2 separate regions of the Homo sapiens genome follow, and region 2 is linked to region 1. The links are contacts of gene promoters, found by promoter capture Hi-C in human tissues and cell types (Jung and others, 2019). All regions are on one chromosome and are shown on one strand. The core of a region is centred on a gene start or on the middle of the fragment in contact, and the rest is flanking DNA. Distances in the headings are between cores, read along the strand shown.

Region 1 (5,178 bases), core at 243-2,742:
TTTAGATTATTTATAAAGCAACATGGAATCTTGTAGAAACTCAGGGACGGGCTGGGCGCGGTGGCTCATGCCTGTAATCCCAGCACTTTGGAAGAACGAGACGGGCGGATCACTTGAGGTCAGGTGTTCAAGACCAGCCTGGCCAACGTGGTGAAACCCCGTCTCTACTAAATATACAAAAATCAGCCGGGTGTGGTGGCGCAGCCTGTAATCCCAGCTACTTGGGAGGCTGAGGCAGGAGAATGGCTTGAACCCGGGAGGCGGAGGCTGCGGTGAGTTAAGATTGCACCATTGCACTCCTGCCTGGGCTACAGAGTGATCCAAAAAAAAAAAAAAAAAAAAAACTGAAAAACTCAGGGACGTTGTTATAACTTAACTAGTGTTCTTTGTTCTGTGGTGTGCTGAAAAGAGAGTTAATGGAGTCCTGGCTGTCAGTTCACCGTGAGTCATAAGAGGATGTGTCCTAATGTTTCAGATTTGTAACTGGGGATCCCCTGGAAGAATCGTCTGGAAATTACGACCTTCATCTGGCGATTGCAGCTGTTAAAGTCTCCAAAGAAGCCATTCTTACATTGTGTTGTGAAATTATTACTCTATCTCAAATCTGTGCCAGAAAGAAAATAAAATGTGTGTTTATGTGTATATTATAAGCTATGTTTTATTGAACTAATCATTACAGAACTTTTATTGGGCACCGACTGTGAGCCAGGCACTGTGCTAGTTTCTTTGAAGGCATTATTTAATTTAATGCTCACAAAACGCCTCTGTAGTGAGCAGTATTGTCATTCCCATTTTGCACGTAAGGAAGTTAAGGCTTAAGAAAGTTGTGCAGCTTCCTCAGGATCACCAAGCCAGTTAAGCACAGTGTCAGATTTCAAATCCAAACTTTGAAATTCATTCTCTAATTTCTTCAGACTACATGGATCGGTTCGGTCCAGTCTAGCTGTCCCAAGTTCTACTTTGGTGTTTTGAGTCTGAAACCCCAACTACTAATCACGTGTTACTTTTACTCGCTTTGCCTTATTTTGCATGTGTCCTTGTTGAATATGTCCTCCTCCAGGAAAAAGGGAGGTGGCAAGACAGAGGCGGCAATAGGGGTTTATTCAACAGATATTTATTGGGCACCACCACCCGCAGATCCCTGCACTGGGCAAACAGGACAGAGATGTTCCTGCCTGAAAGGATGTGTGGATAAGTGCACAAATGTGTGGATAGATGGATAAAATAAATAAGGAGGAAGCACATGGAATACATCAACAAATAAGTGAATCATGGTATGAGAGAATCAGCGGGAACAGTGGATGGCATGGGTGTGTGAGTGAATGGGGAAGTAAACGAACGAACGAACGAATGAATGAATGAAGTGGTTTTGAGTCTGAGCTACCAGAAGCCCGAGAGCCTGGCTGCGGGCGGGCGGAGGGGCGGCTACTCCACACAGTACGGTAGGCGCAGGCTGCTCCTCCTGTAACCCAGCTCTCACCGCCTCCCCCTCCTCTCCTCTCTCTCCTCCTCCTTCGCCGTCGCCGCCGCCGCCGGCCGCCCGCCGGCCGCCACGACCCCAGTCCCCGGCGGGCGGGCGGAGGAGGCGACCGCCGCGCGCTGCTGCACTCATCCTGCCGCCGCCGCGATGCGCAGAGGGGCCGAGCCGCCTGGGGGCCGCCGCCGCCGCCGCGCCGCACCATGAAGCTCCGCAGCAAGGCGGCGGCGCTGCTCTTGCTCGCGCTGGCCGCGCTGCTGCTGGCGCTGCTGTCCCTGCGCGCTGGCCGCGCTGAGCCCCCAGCGCTGCCCGCGCGCCCCGCGTCCGCCCCGCAGCGCCACCCCGCGCCTGTCCCCGCGCGCTGGCCGGGGCCGGGCGCCCTCCCCGGGGCCAGCCCGGGAGTTCGGAGGCGCCGGCCCCCGCGTCCGCGCCCCCGAGCGGGCCGCCGGGGCGCTGCGAGACTGGAGAAGTTGGCGAGGTGAGTCGTGGCAACCCCAGAATCCCATCTGCGGACCCGTGTCTCGCTCCCTACACCCGTGCCAAGTCCAAGGGAGGCTTTGCGCTGGAGAGACAGATTTCCAAGTTTCACCCACGGGCTGCCCACTTCTGTTTCTTAACCCGATAGAAAAGAAGACCCACCTTGGTGGAGTCCCCCTAACAGCTCGGTGTTGATAATCACGTACATTTTTTGAAGTGTCAAGGAAAGTGGTTTCGTACATTACATTTTTTAACTGTCAAGGCAAGGCGTATTTTTGCACTCTTGCAAACATGCACCCTTTGTTTAATTTGTCAAAAGCCATCACGGTGCAAGAATGTTTTATCTAATTCTCATGTTTCACTGGAGAATTTTACCGAAACCTTAGATATGGTTGAGTTGGAAAAGTTAGATGTTTACCAAGGACTGGCAGCCTCTCATTTAACCTCGAGTACCCCCATGCTTAGAACAGAAGGGACACTTGACCTAAGTTTATTAAAAAGAAGTTTTCTCCTTGAAAGGACTGATGCGTGGCACAGAAAAGACAGAGTGGGGGTTTCCAGATCCTCATTCTGTTTCAGGCTCGAGTGTGGTCAAAGGGTCCTCCTACAAGAAAAACAACTTAACCTTCGACCTTCTGTTTGATACTCTCTTTCCCTACACAAAGCCTAACACGCGGAGGCTTTTCATCAGAGAGCTTTATTTTTGGCCTCAGGGTTGCTGGAACGCCCCGCAGGTTAGGGATTTGAGTTCATTTCCTTTGTTGTGGAGGGCTTTTCAACAATCCCCTTGTCTTGTAGCGAGTCTGTTTCATCTGCCCTTTCAAAACTGTTGTTTCTAACTGCCATTGCAACGTCCTTGTTTGCTGGGCTCCTTAATTTCAACCTGAAAGGAGTTGAAAAATTATTTTTGACCATAATGACTAAATCTCTTTGGTGCCTTTACTGTAACTAAAAGACACGAAACCTCAAGAAGTAGCTGTGTCAGCCTTTGTTTCCCTTCTGTCTCAGTACAAATGGGTACTGACAAGTTTTAGGGGGAAAAAACCCCAACAATCTGTCGCTTTAAAGTACTTATAACACTTTACAGCCCTTTCTGGATGTATACAGTCTTTAAGGATATCTTTGTTAGGAAATTAATAGGATTTCCCCTCTTCTATACTGGAGTTTCTTGTAAGAGATTAATTAGGGTTTAACTGCAAGTTTAATATGATTGCTAAGTTTGATGGGACAACTGGTAAGATAATAATAACTGTCATCCTTAACATCGCTAACCTATTGCCAGGGACAGTGCTAACCGCAGTACATACAAATAGTCACAGTTAACACTTAACATATACAACTACATAATCCACACCATAACCTTCCCCCCCACCGCTGTTTTTCTTTTGGTTTTTTTTTTGTTTTTTTTTTTTTTTTGTGACAAAGTCTTCCTCTGTCGCCCAGGCTGGAGTGCCGTGCTGCGATCTCTGCTCACTGCAACCGCTGCCTCCCGGGTTCAGGCCTCCCAGATTCAAGTGATTCTTGTGCCTCAGCCTGCCAGGTAGCTGGCAAACAGGCGTGTGCCACCATGCCCAGCTGATTTTTGTATTTTTAGTAGAGAGACGGGGTTTCACCATATTGGCCAGGAACTCCTGAGCCCAGTGATCCATCTGCCTCAGCCTTTCCCAAAGTGCTAGGATTACAGGCGTGAGCCACCGCGCCGGGCCCAACCATAACCCTTTGACAGTGGTTCTCAAAGTGTGGACTTCAGACCAGTGGCACAGGCATCATCTGGGAACTTGTTAGAAATGCAGATTCCTGGGCCCCACCCCAACCCTACAGAATCAGAAGCTTTGGGGGGTCAGCAACCGTGTTTTAACACGTCCCTCCCATTGTTTCTCATGCACAACAAAGTTTGAGAACCTGCTCTGCAAAGTAAGCACCAATGGTATCCCCACTTTTCAGATGAGGAAAGTATTGCACAAGGGTTAGCAGTTTGTCCAAGGTTCACAGGTAACCTGGTAGAGAAGGATAAAGATCCAGGCAGTGTGGGCTCAGGTTGAGCACTTACCTGCTATGCTGATGTCAGGCCATAGACTTGCCTGCAATTCGTAATTTTACTGAGATGTCTTTTAAAGAAACACTGTAGATTTTTGGATCTGTCTCATTCTTCAAGGTGTCGAGAACAGTGGCGCAGCATCTTTTTGTGTCTATCTGAACAAAGTGTCTCTGACTAGGAGGAGATCATGAACAGAATCCAAATGGATGTTTTAGGGAAGGAGTGTTTCTATTTCCAGGAGTAACAGTACCCTTGAAGCCATTTTTCTTTTGAACATATCTCTTAGATTATCGTGGAAATTATGGCCAACACCATAGGAATACAGAACAAAATTTTAAAACTGGGGAAGGAGTAAAAAACAAAAGCCACAGGAAGTCTCAGGCTCAAATGCATAAACAGTTGACATTTTCTGGGACTTATTTATTGTTTCTCTTGCTACCTCCACAGAAATGGCAACAGAAGATTCTGAAGTTGTGAGGGAGCAGGAGGAAAGATCTCTGCTCGGTCTCCTTTATTGCTTTCCTAATTCTGCTTGGGTTAAATTTTTGTGGTTTAGGAGGAATTTCATTTAGGGAGGGAAGAGAAAGCCTCGTGTTTTCAGAAAACGAGTGCTTTAATCTCTTTACATGGCTAGAATCCAGAAGAGATGAAGGCTACGTGATCTCATTTCTCTGGCCTGGGGAGGGTCAGGCTTGTGGTTGTAGTTAGCTGAGAGCCTGGAGTTGGATGTGACACAGTCCACCACCTGCTTACCATCCACAGCCTGTGCTGCCTCGCCTCCCACAGGGGGCTGCTGTAAGTGAAATTCTGCCACGTCAACGCAGGAAACATAGCACTCTCCTTCCACATCTTGTTTTCATTTCACAGAAGTTTCCAAGGATTTGCCTCGTTAGTAGGCAGACCCTTCAATTTTGTAACTAGTCATTTGTATGCAATCTGCCCTGTGGTGGCCTCCTTCTCTATAAATATAAAGCCAAGAGGTAAGTAAGGTCTGAGCTTTTCTGTCAAGGGGGGATTTGAAAATGGACACCATTCTGGAAGCAGCAGTCCCAGTGCACAAAACAAATGAAATCTTCCTTCTATTTTGGCTTATTGGTGATTTACAGCTGGCTGACTTCCAAAAAGAGTCTAAGACAACGTATAGTAAAAGACACATATACAATAAGTCCATTGAAATGGTATAAAA
Region 2 (4,980 bases), core at 385-2,884, 130 kb after region 1:
AAACTGGAGAAAAATATATGCTATAGAATTTGAAATTTAAGGAAAGTGCGAGGTCTTAACATTTGTAATTTTTGCACTATTGTGTATATCTGGGAGGAAGGGGGAGAGTGAGGTAGCTTTCTATCAACTAATGGCAAAGTACGGTTGTCCCTTGTTATATGTGGGTGATTGGTTCCAGGACCTCCTTTGGACATAAAATCTGTGGATGCTCAGTCCCTGATGTAAAGTGGTATAATATTTGCATATAACCTTTGCACATCCTTGGTGCATCTCTAGATTACTTATAATACGTAATACAATATAAATGATACGTAAATAGTTTTTATACCTTATATTGTTTAGGAAGTAATGACGAGAAATGTCTCCACATTTCAGTACAATTTTTCTCAAATATTTTCTCCTTCTTTTTTTTTGAGACGGAGTCTTGCTCTGTCACCCAGGCTGGAGTGCAGCGGCGCAATCTCAGCTCACTGCAACCTCTGGCTTCCGGGTTCACGCCATTCTCCTGCCTCAGCCTCCCGCTTAGCTGGGACTACGAGCGCCTGCCACCACACCTGGATAATTTTTTAAATATTTTTAGTAAAGACTGTGTTTCACCATGTTAGCCAGGATGGTCTTGATCTCCTGACCTCATGATCCACCCACCTCTGCCCTCCAAAGTGCTGGGGCTACAGGCGTGAGCCACTGCGCCCAGCCCTTTCTCAAATATTTTCAATCTGAGGTTGGTTGGATTCGCGAATGTGGAACTCGTAGATACAGAGGGCGCACTGTATTTCTATTTAAAATTGTGCAACTAAAGGGAATTTAATATTTTTAGAGATTGTTTTATTAGGGATACTGTTGTCTATGGTGATTTCCAGGGTGGCTTTTGAGGTGGTGGCCGTTTTTGTTTCAAAGAGATTTGTTAACTGGAGACTGGTCCACCTTTTCTAGGGCTTTTGCATACTAGAGTGTGTCTTGCTGTAAGGAGCAATCTTAAATGTAGGTAGAATGTAGGCTTTTTTTTTTTTTTTTTTAAACCACCCTTACCAGTGAATACTAGTGGTGAATTTGAGATTTTCATGTTTGTAGGGTCATTGCAAGACAAGTCGTGTTTCTTTTCCTCTTGTGTAGATACTGATACTTTTCTAGTCTTGCCCTGCCTGCTTGTTCATAGTAGAGAGTTTTTGGGGATGATACCTTGTTAAGTTGTCATTCAGTTTTCTTGTAAATATTGTGTGTGGTCTTTGGTTTTGCTATGTTGCTTTTGGTAGGATATGGCTAAAATCAGTGCCATAGCCAGCATGTGGTTACTTTAAAAATTATTTCTGACAAAATATTAGATGGTTAGATGAACAGGTAAAATTTTAAAAGTAGCTTTAAAAACTTGGATTTAAAATATGGAGAATATCTTGATATATGCTTTTTCTATTTACATCTTCATTTTGGTTAAGGAGGAATTTGGTGAGAATAACTGCATTTTGAGTGTAATGGATCACACAAATTAGGTAATTCTTGTGCCTATAAATGTGGAAAACTCATGTGCAAAGATGATTGAAATTGATACTGCTTTAGATGTTTCTGTCTCATTTTACAAAAATGTAAGAAAAAAAATCAAACTATACTGTTACCTATTTCTTGTATATTCTTAACAGAATGTTCTGTACACATAAGTGTATGTGTGTTAATCCTCTTGTTAAATGCCATGAAACTTCAGTTTGCCTTTTGTTATTTTCTTTATTTAGATACCTTTTTTCTTTTTCTTTTTTTTTTTTGAGACAGTCTTGCTCTGTTGCCTAGGCAGGAGTGCAGTGGCACAACCTCAGCTCACTGCAGCCTCCACCTCCTGGTTTCAAGCAATTTTTCTGCCTCAGCCTCCCGAGTAGGTGGGATTACGGGCACGTGCCACCGTGCCCAGCTAATTTTTTTGTATTTTTAGTAGAGACAGGGTTTTGCCATGTTGGCCAGGCTGGTCTCAAACTCTTGATCCCAGTTGATCCGCCTGCCTTGGCCTCCCAAAATGCTGGGATTTCAGGCATGAACCACCGCGCCCGGGCTTGTATTTGGATATCTTACCAAAACACAAAAATTTACCTCGTTGTCTTCATGGGCTGCATAATATTTTATTGTTTTGGGTGTTCTTTATTTAACCTGTCTTCTTTGATGGTTTTTTGGGCAGTTTACAGTTACCAACCAATTCAAACAGTGCTTAAGTTAATATACTGGCACAGATGTAAGAGTGGGATTTATGGGTTCATGATTATGTACGTTACTATGTTTGACAGATACTGCCAGCTGGCTTTCCAAAAAACTTGTTCAGTATGTGCTTCTACTAGCAGTATATGAAAGTTATCTCTATATCCATGTTAGCACCAAGCATTATTCAGATTTTAAAATTATTTTTATTTTTATATTTATTTTTGAGACCGGGTCTCACTCTGGCCCAGGCTGGAGTGCAGTGGCATGATCATAGCTTACTGCAACCTCAAACTCCTAGGCTCAAGTGATTTTCCCACCTGAGCTTCCCCAGTAGCTAGGACTACAGGTATGCACCACCACACCCAGCTAATTTATTAATTTTTTTGTAGAGATGGGGTCTTGCTCAGGCTGGTTGCCCAGGCTGGTCTCAACTGAGAATTGCTGAACTCAAGCAATTCTCCCACCTTGGCCTCCCAAAGTGCTGGGATTACAGGCATGAGCCATTGTGCAGAGCCCATTATTAGGCTTTTAAATCTGAAAATCTGGTAGGTGAAAAATGCTTTATTTAATTTGCATTGTTTTATTTTGTGCTAACATCTTATAGTTTTTTTTTATTGCCACTTGTAATTTTCTATCTGATGCCTCATTGATAGAGTTGTTCCTTTTTCAGATTTTTTGGCTAGACTAAAAAAATTGCCTGTATCATTTGTTTCATTGGAGATTTGAAAGTGATAATATTCTAAATCTAGCATTGCTTTATCATTTATTAGTTGGAATCCTTGTGTATTTATTTATTCATTTTAATGAGATGGGGTCTTGCTGTGTTGCCCAGGCTGGCCTCGAAACCCTGGCCTCAAGTGATCCACCTGCCTCAACTTCCCAAACTGCGGGGATTGCAGATGTAAGCAGCCTCACCCAGTCGTAATTTTTTTTCCTCGAAATATACTCCTGGCCTGTTTATTAATAAACATGCCAAAGCAAGCCATTTAGGATATAGGAAGAAAATAAATACTGAGAGCACTCTGAGATCTCAGAAATGTCATAAAGTCCTATAAAACAGAAGGAATGAAAACACTACCCACAAGATCTAAGATTGCTCTCTGCTATCTTTTTTTGAGACAGAGTCTCTCTCTGTTGCCCAGGGTGGAGTGCAGTGACTTGATCTCAGCTCACTGCCACCTCTGCCTCCCTGGTTCAAGCAGTTCTCCTGCCTCAGCCTCCTGAGTAGCTGGGATTACAGGTGTGTATCATGCCCAGCTGATTTTTACATTTTTAGTAGAGACAGGGTTTTGCCATGTTGGCCATGCTGGTCTTGAACTCCTGGCCTCAAGTAATCCACCCGCGTTGGCCTCCCAAAGTTGGGATTACAGGCATGAGCCACCGTGCCCAGCCTACTGTCTTTTTTTTTTTTTTTTTAGGGTCTCGCTCTGTCGCCCAGGCTGGAGTGCAGTGGCATGATCTCGGCTCACTGCAACCTCTGCCTCCCTGGTTCGAGCGATTCTTCTACCTCAGCCTCTCGATTAGCTGGCACTACAGGCGTGTGCCACCATGCCCAGCTTTTTTTTTTTTTTTTGAGACGGAGTTTCGCTGTGTCGCCCAGACTGGAGTGCAGTGGCGCCATCTCGGCTCACTGCAAGCTCCACCCCCTGGGTTCATGCCATTGTCCTGCCTTATCCTCCTGAGTAGCTGGGACTACAGGCTCCCGCCACCATGCCCGATTAATTTTTTTGTGTGTTTAGTAGAGACGGGGTTTCACCATGTTAGCCAGGACGGTCTCGATCTCCTGACCTCGTGATCTACCTGCTTTGGCCTCCCAAAGTGCTGGGATTACAGACGTGAACTACTGCACCCGCCCTGTTTTTTTGAGTAGAGACAGGGTTTCACCATGTTATCCAGGCTGGTCTCGAACTCCTGACCTCAAGTATCTGCCTGCTTCGGCCTCCCAAAGTGCTGGGAATACAGGTGTGAGCCACCATGCCTGGCCTCTACTATCTGAAACATAGTTTTAAATGACATATTTTAATCTAAATATAAATAAAACATTTAATTTGACCAATGCTGTTTAATTAAGCTAATAATAACCCTTGACAATAAATTAGATCTGAAATTATTTGAAGATGTGTGAGATTCTTTGAGATGTGGGAGTTTTTTTTCCACATTTTCCTTTAATTCTATAATATTCTCGTTCACTTTTTTTTTTCAATGCCTTATAGCAGTGGTTCTAAACCAGGGCTGACAATGTCTAGAGATGTTTTTGGTTGCTACAGTTTGGGGGCATGCTGCCGGCATCTAGTGGGGTAGAGGGCAGGGATGCCTCCAAACATCCTATATTGCTTAGGACACTCCCCAGCAATGAAGAATTGTCTGGCCCCAAATGTCAGTAGTGTCAAGGTTGAGAGACTGCTTTATAGGAGAAAGCATACCTGAAGATTTTAAAAGTGTCTTGAAGTTTTCTTCTAGGACCTCTGAAATTTAAAAAAATGGTAAGACCACCAATTAAGGTCTTTAACCAAGTCTTAGTTTTACCTATCAGAATTCTATTTGAGACGGTAAAGTATAATTTTGAGAAATAAATAATATGAATGTCCTAGATGTTTTTGTGTTTATTTAAATATGGTGTCTGTTAACTAGCTTTATTGGTTCATTGTTTATTTTTATTATTTTTTTTTTTTAATACAGAGTCTCACTCTGTCACCCATTCTGTTAACTGGCTTTACTGGTTCATTGTTTCTTTTTTTTTTTTTTTTTTTTTTAAATACAGAGTCTCACTCTGTCGCCCAGGCTGGAGTTCAGTGGCTCACT

What was found. Contacts are between HindIII fragments. The study calls those that stand out against the background at their distance.
Region 2: a contact is called between a fragment that was not itself captured here and the fragment with the promoter of GXYLT2 in region 1, in 3 of the 25 tissues and cell types used here (bladder, dorsolateral prefrontal cortex and neural progenitor cells).

Annotation. Positions count from the first base shown.
Region 1 is chr3:72,886,554-72,891,731 of GRCh38, forward strand. GXYLT2 (glucoside xylosyltransferase 2) reads left to right here and starts at 1,493. Exons shown (of 7, transcript NM_001080393.2): 1 at 1,493-1,955. The coding sequence starts at 1,681. RefSeq lists silencers at 1,533-1,762, 1,863-1,992. The HindIII fragment of the contact is 12,200 bases long and covers 1-5,178 here.
Region 2 is chr3:73,011,905-73,016,884 of GRCh38, forward strand. The region is part of intron 2 of PPP4R2 (protein phosphatase 4 regulatory subunit 2); the gene reads left to right. Among named protein-coding and RNA genes, the nearest start is that of PPP4R2, 18 kb to the left of the region's middle. The HindIII fragment of the contact is 7,065 bases long and covers 1-4,980 here.